2 separate regions of the Homo sapiens genome follow, and region 1 is linked to region 2. The links are contacts of gene promoters, found by promoter capture Hi-C in blood cells and fetal thymus (Javierre and others, 2016). All regions are on one chromosome and are shown on one strand. The core of a region is centred on a gene start or on the middle of the fragment in contact, and the rest is flanking DNA. Distances in the headings are between cores, read along the strand shown. Region 1 holds the start of SPTSSA (serine palmitoyltransferase small subunit A). Region 2 holds the start of ARHGAP5-AS1 (ARHGAP5 antisense RNA 1 (head to head)).

Evidence for each region. The method cuts DNA at HindIII sites, captures the fragments that hold promoters and counts their contacts. A CHiCAGO score of 5 or more calls a contact.
Region 1: a contact is called between the fragment with the promoter of SPTSSA here and the fragment with the promoter of ARHGAP5-AS1 in region 2, in 1 of 17 cell types (erythroblasts). The highest score is 5.6, in erythroblasts.

What each region holds. Positions count from the first base shown.
Region 1 is chr14:34,460,775-34,463,719 of GRCh38, reverse strand. SPTSSA (serine palmitoyltransferase small subunit A) reads left to right here and starts at 1,480. Exons shown (of 2, transcript NM_138288.4): 1 at 1,480-1,624. The coding sequence starts at 1,513. RefSeq lists silencers at 958-1,467, 1,588-1,757 and enhancers at 667-1,617, 2,158-2,267. The HindIII fragment of the contact is 5,560 bases long and covers 1-2,945 here.
Region 2 is chr14:32,075,265-32,078,284 of GRCh38, reverse strand. ARHGAP5-AS1 (ARHGAP5 antisense RNA 1 (head to head)) reads left to right here and starts at 1,586. Exons shown (of 1, transcript NR_027263.1): 1 at 1,586-2,866. ARHGAP5 (Rho GTPase activating protein 5) reads right to left here and starts at 981. Exons shown (of 7, transcript NM_001030055.2): 1 at 850-981. RefSeq lists silencers at 628-922, 721-940, 1,301-1,560. The HindIII fragment of the contact is 3,747 bases long and covers 280-3,020 here.

The DNA of each region.
Region 1 (2,945 bases), core at 231-2,730, 2.4 Mb before region 2:
CACTTGATATTACTTACTGTTTTCTTTCTTTTCTTCTCTTCTCTTCTGTTTTCTCCTCTCTTTCTCTGTCTCCTTTCTTTCCTTTCTTTTGCTCTGCCACCTAAGATGGAGTGCAGTGGCACCATCCTGGCTCACTGCAACCTCGACCTCCCGTGCTCGAGCAATCCTCCCGCCTCAACCTCCTGAGTAGCTGGGACTACAGGTGCACGCCACCACCCCTGGCTAACTTTTTGTTATGTATTTACTTATTTTTTTTGGTAGAGACGGGGTTTCACCATGTTGCTCAGGCTGGTCTCGACCTTCTGGACTCAAGTGATCCGCCAGCCTCAGCCTCCCAAAGTGCTTGGATTACAGGCATGAGCTACGGCGCTTGGCCGGCACTTGGTACTTTTAATGAATAGTTATTAACCATGAAACTTTTAAAGTTTAAGCAGTAGTATGTTTAACCTGGAAGACTTTTAACATTTAAACAGCAGGCCATTTAATTGTGGCAGTTCACATGCTACACCAGTGCATGGAGCTCCTTGTGGCCAGTGCAATGTTGCTGGCCCATCTGGCAGTGGGAAAATCTGGGCATCCAGGAGTGCATCTCTAGGGAAGTATCACCAGCCCTCACACCAATCTCAAGCTGCCTGTCTTCTGCAGAACCCACTAGATCAGCGCGCTTCTGGCCTTGACCCACTTGGTGGTTACCTACAGCCACTAAGAGGTGGGCAGATAGATGTTTTTGGTAAGTGGTCTCTGGGTTAGGGAGTGCATGGGTTATGTCCGTCTAGGGGTGTGTGTGTGTGTGTGTGTGTGTGTGTGTGTGTGTGTGTGTGTGTGCATGGGTGGGGGAAGGGAGGAAGGAGGCCGAATGTGCATCCCTTCTACAAGGACGCCTTTCCAGACCTCCTTATTAGGTGGCGTTCGCCTCCTCACCCTCTCTCAGCCCCTTATCTCCTCTTACACGGATCACGACTTGATTAATGCTTGTCTCCCAGCTAGGCCGCCAGCTGCACAAGGTAAGGAACCGAAGGCATTCCGGTTCTCCCTGGCAATCCTCCTTCTCAGAAGGATGCCTGAGGCATAACAAGTGTTCCAGAAATATTTCTTCCGCAAGCGCTCTGGGCCAGTCTGGACGGACCGAGCGCCCGCTGGGCTGCGGGGGCCCCGGGACCCCGGCCGGCACTGACGCCCCGCCCACCACCGGCCGGCCCGGGCGGGGTGGGGCGCGGCTGGGCGCTCTCGCGGGGACCGTTCTCCGGCTAGCGTGGGCGATGCCCGGGCGGGGAAACGGGAGGGGACGACGCGACGCGAGGTAGCGGCCTGGCCAATGAGCGCGGGTCGGGCGGGGCTGGGGGCCGGCGGCCGGGGCGCGCGCGGGTCTGGGCGTGCCGCGGGTGACGGCGGGGCCGGGCGGGCCAATGGGCGCTGGGTGGCGGGCGGGCGGGCCTGGCGGCCGGGGGCTTTAGGACGTGAGCGGGCGGCCGGCCGGACAGACTGACGTGTGAGCTGCATCGCGGGAGGCGCATGGCGGGGATGGCGCTGGCGCGGGCCTGGAAGCAGATGTCCTGGTTCTACTACCAGTACCTGCTGGTCACGGCGCTCTACATGCTGGAGCCCTGGGAGCGGACGGTGTTCAGTATCCTGTCCCGGCCGCGCGCGCGGGGGCCGGGCTGGGGGCGCGGGCCGCGGGGCCGCATTTCCCCAGGCCCCGGGCCTGGGGTGGAGGCTGGAGCGGCGGCCCCGCCGGTCCTGTGCGCGGAAGCCGGGGGTGCAGGGGGAGGTCTGGGGGCCGAGGGCGGCGCTCGCGGGGTTAAGTGGGGGGTGGGGGAGACGAGAACTCTTGAGATCCGGGGTCACCTGTGAGTCGCTGGACCCAAGGGGGAAGCGTCTTGATTCCTGGAGGAAATCTCCGAAGGTGATGTGTAACCCTGTGTGTCGCCTGCACTTCGGCCGCAACTGCCTTTGGTTCAGTCCCCTGTTCCTGTAGGAGGCGGGGATCATGTAACAGTGGAGCACATCGCTCCCGGCTTGGACGCCTTTGACCTTTAAGTGTTCCTGATTTAGTTGGCTTTGGGTCTACCAAGAATTCTAGTCAGTTAACTAGCTTTTAAGCCAGGTTCTGAATTTGTAGGCATGACACTCCAGTAGTTTTTGAAAGCAGTTTAAGTTATTGTATCTTTTTGGTCTTCAAGTTGGGGAGTTTTAAAAGTGTATTTATTGCTTCTGTGCACCGTCCGTAGAAGTCGGCCCGAAAAGTGGTGCAATTTGTGGTTAGTTGTCGGTAGGGTTTGAAACTGTGTTTTGGTGGATAGTTAATAAATTCTTGTTAATGACTATTGAGTGGTTACTATAAGCAAAGCATTTGTGCAAAGCACGTTGTCTGTATCTTAACTCATCTAACTTTGAGAACTTCAGTTAATAACTCAGGGTTGTGAAGATAGGCTCCCTGAAAGTCTGATGTTTCTTGTCTCTGCTTGTCCATATTGACATCCTTTGATGATATTCTTGCAGATTAAATACTGATAATGAATGAGATGTAACTTTTAAAAAACTCAGGCCAATACAAAACAGGTATTTCACAAAACATGTTTAGTTTATCCACGTTCTCTCCTTTTCAGTGTGGTTTAGTTGGAGTAGCTTACTTCAGAATAACTTTGCGAATGCATTGTTGCATTCCAGTGAGTGACTGAGGTAATTTCATTCTAAGCCTTATCAAGTGTGTTTATTTGTTTTGAGATAGCTTAAGGTTGTACTCAAAGCTGAGTCTTTTGTTTAAGCACTTTTGAGGAATTTGAGATGCTTTCAAAGCAGTTTATTTATTTATTACTGTTGGCATTTCTTTCCAAACCTGGAATTTAAGAACCAGAATGCATATTTTGGATTTAGACTCTGAATATAGTTTGCTTTGATTTCCTGCACCATTTATTTGTAGCTGCAGTTTAGTCTCACTCTTTAGG
Region 2 (3,020 bases), core at 337-2,836:
TTCAACCTCAGCTACACCCCGAGCCTCCAGCTCTCTTGCATTTCTAATAACGCTGAAGAGGGAGGGTGAGAGGGAGTATTTCTGTGTGGATAAGTGCGCGCGCGCTCCCGCGCGGCTCCCCACCCCCACCCCGATACTTTTCTTTAGTGGAAAGAGAGGAAGAATCTGGAGGTTATTCTAGCGAAAACTCAGTATCAAAGCCTCAACCCAGTCGCAGTCAGCCCATAGGACTCTGGGCTCTGGATGCGCAGTGCAACTTCTCATATCTTACTCCAAGCTTCAAAGCAGATGGAAAATTGGTGAAGAGAACCCAGGGAGGAGTCGAGGAGATGAGGGAAAGTGAAAGGGCCGATCCCCCCTACAAGGCGTTTAAGTTTGCAACCGAGACTGTGTTTCCGCGAATCTGCACCCGCCCCGTGTACCCTTTCCAGGTGGAACTCGTTAACAGCAGCAACCCGGCCAACGGACACCGCCACCTCCCCTCTCGACGGACCACCCGAGACTCGAGCAAGTGAGGCGGCGGGCGAGAGCGGACGCCTGGCGGGGCCGGCGATCCCCGGCCAGCATCAGGCCTCCGCCGACCCTGGCCCCGTCACCTGTGGAGAAAGCACCCCCTCCCCCGGCCTCTCTGCCCTTCACGCCGAACGTATCCCTAACGCTGCAGCTGCTGCCCGCCCGGCCTGCGAAAACCGAGCGCAGCGCCAGGCTCCCCTCGGCGGCCGCGGGGCCCCAGCCCCTTCAACTGGTTACAACCGGCAGCGGCGACCGAGCGGGGCAGCTAGCCGCAGGAGGGTCCCCGTCCGGGAGGGGGCAGGCAGGCTTGGAGGAGCGGGGTCCGCAAGGTCCTACCTAACAACGTCGGTCTCCTCCGTCTCCTCCTCAACGGCAGCGGCCCCGGCGGTGGCGGCGGCAGCGACATTCCTGGGGACCGCTCCCGCCGCCGCCGCCTCCTCCTCCACTCTCCGCTCGCCTCTCTTCCTCGGCGCGCTCACCGAGCGGCGCGTCCCTTCAGCCACCTCCCCCCGCCCTCCCCGACACACACGCCCCGAAACCCTGAGCCCCACGGCTCCCGCAGCCAGCTCACCCACCCTCCCTCCCTCCCTCCCCGCCACCAGCGGCGGCCCGTCCCTCCCCCCTTCCCCAGCGCCCGCCGCCGCGCCGGGCTCAGTAATGGCGGCCACTCGGGCTCCCTCGCGCTGACGGATTTCTCTCCCTCTCTCCCGAACTTTACCTCAGCATCTCTCCCGGCGCGCGCAGCCACACACCCGACCGGGGGCGGAGCGGCGGCGCGGCGGCGCAGCCTGGACGGGACGCGCGCGCGCGCGCGAACCCGCGCTGCCCTCCCCACAATCCCCCGTCCCCGCCCCTTCACCTCGCGACGCCTCCCGCGCCGCGCACCCGGCACGGCCCCGCCCCTGCCCTCGTCTCCCGGGAGCCTGGGAAGGCGCGAGCTATCCAGTCGGAGGGAGGGGGACGAGCGCGCGGGGCCGCGTCCTCGCTCGCGTCCCCGCTCCCTCCTCCCCTCTGCTTCTCCCTCCCCTCCACTCCCCCATTGGCTTCTACCCCTCCCCCTTCTTCCTCCGCCTCTCCCACCATTGGTTCCCTCCCCTACTCCATTCCTTCTCACCTTTTCCCTTTTACCCATTGGCGTGAGTATTTTTCCTCAGCTTCCCTCTTTCTCCGTATTCTGCTCCTCCTCAGTCCCATCCTCCACGCTTTGGAAGCTACTGCCTTACTGCCCGGAGCGCCGTCGTCCCCGAACCTCCCCTGCTTCTCCCTTTCCTTCTGTTCCGGTTTCTGGTCGTAACTCAAGAGCAAACCACCGTACTGCAAAGGAACCAGATATTGTGCTCGCGGTTCCAAACCGGGCATGGGCACCGAATGCTTCTCGATAAATCCCCTTATGGTCTCTGAGCATTAAAGAAAGCAAGGGAGGAAAACATGCGCCCAAGCTCGTTCGCAGGAACATGTTCGCGTGTCTGCGCCTGTGTGCGCAGCCAGTTTTCTGGCTGAGGATCGCTCGCCAACTACAGACATCACCCGCCCAGGACCCGGTGCCACACTCACCCAGAAGACGAAACTCCACAGGAGCGAGAAGAGGAGTCCATTTCTCCGTCGGCTCGGCACGGCACGGGGATGCAGGCCCCTGATTCAGTACGTTCTGTGAAAGTGGAGCGAGAAGCCAAGACGTGGATCGAGAAGCCCCGTGGGGCGGGTCTCAGGGTGGCCCAAAAGACCCCTGTTCACGCCACTACCAGCCTAACTTTAGGAACTGTCGTCCACCTGGCTTTTATTATACTGCCTTAAACATATTCACTTTTTTGAGACTCTAGAAATTTCACAAGTTTTGGGGTAGAGCACACTGGGCTTTGGGTGTGTTTCTCATGAGGGCACTGACGCTGAATGGTGCAGTGAGAAAGGACGGTAGAAACCACTGCCTTTGCTTTTACCATTGAAGAAACTGAGGTCCTGTGACTTTCCCGAGGTCATCGGAATCTGCCTTGCACAGGAGACTTAAAATAGTTGCCAGCAGATAAAAGAATGAGCAAAACCACATCTACTCCAATTTGTTAAGTCTGAAAGAAAGTAATTGAGGGGGGATTCCTCTTTGGGGAAATATTTATTTCCTGCATTGAAAATAGTTTAATGTTAGTAAACATATAAAAAGTATTTTAAATTCAAGTTATTCTTTATTTCTTATGTTACATAAGGTACTGAAGTTAGCCAAGGTTGCTTTTGTGTTATAATGATGCAGCTGCTGCCAACCAGAAGTACATTTACGGTCTGTCAGTAAAGAAAACAAAAACTGCCTGTTGGTAAAAATCTATTAGAAAATATTTGTCAGTAAATTTGTCACAATATTCCAGCAGAAGTTCTGTTCGTTTTTCCGTCTTCCTGCCCTTCATATTTCTCAAAGGTAGACTTAATAAAGGTAGAAGAGACATTTCTAATTTTTCTATATATCTCTTGCTCCCTAATTTCTAAAAGGCATAACTAAAATGCTTTATTCGAGCCACTCC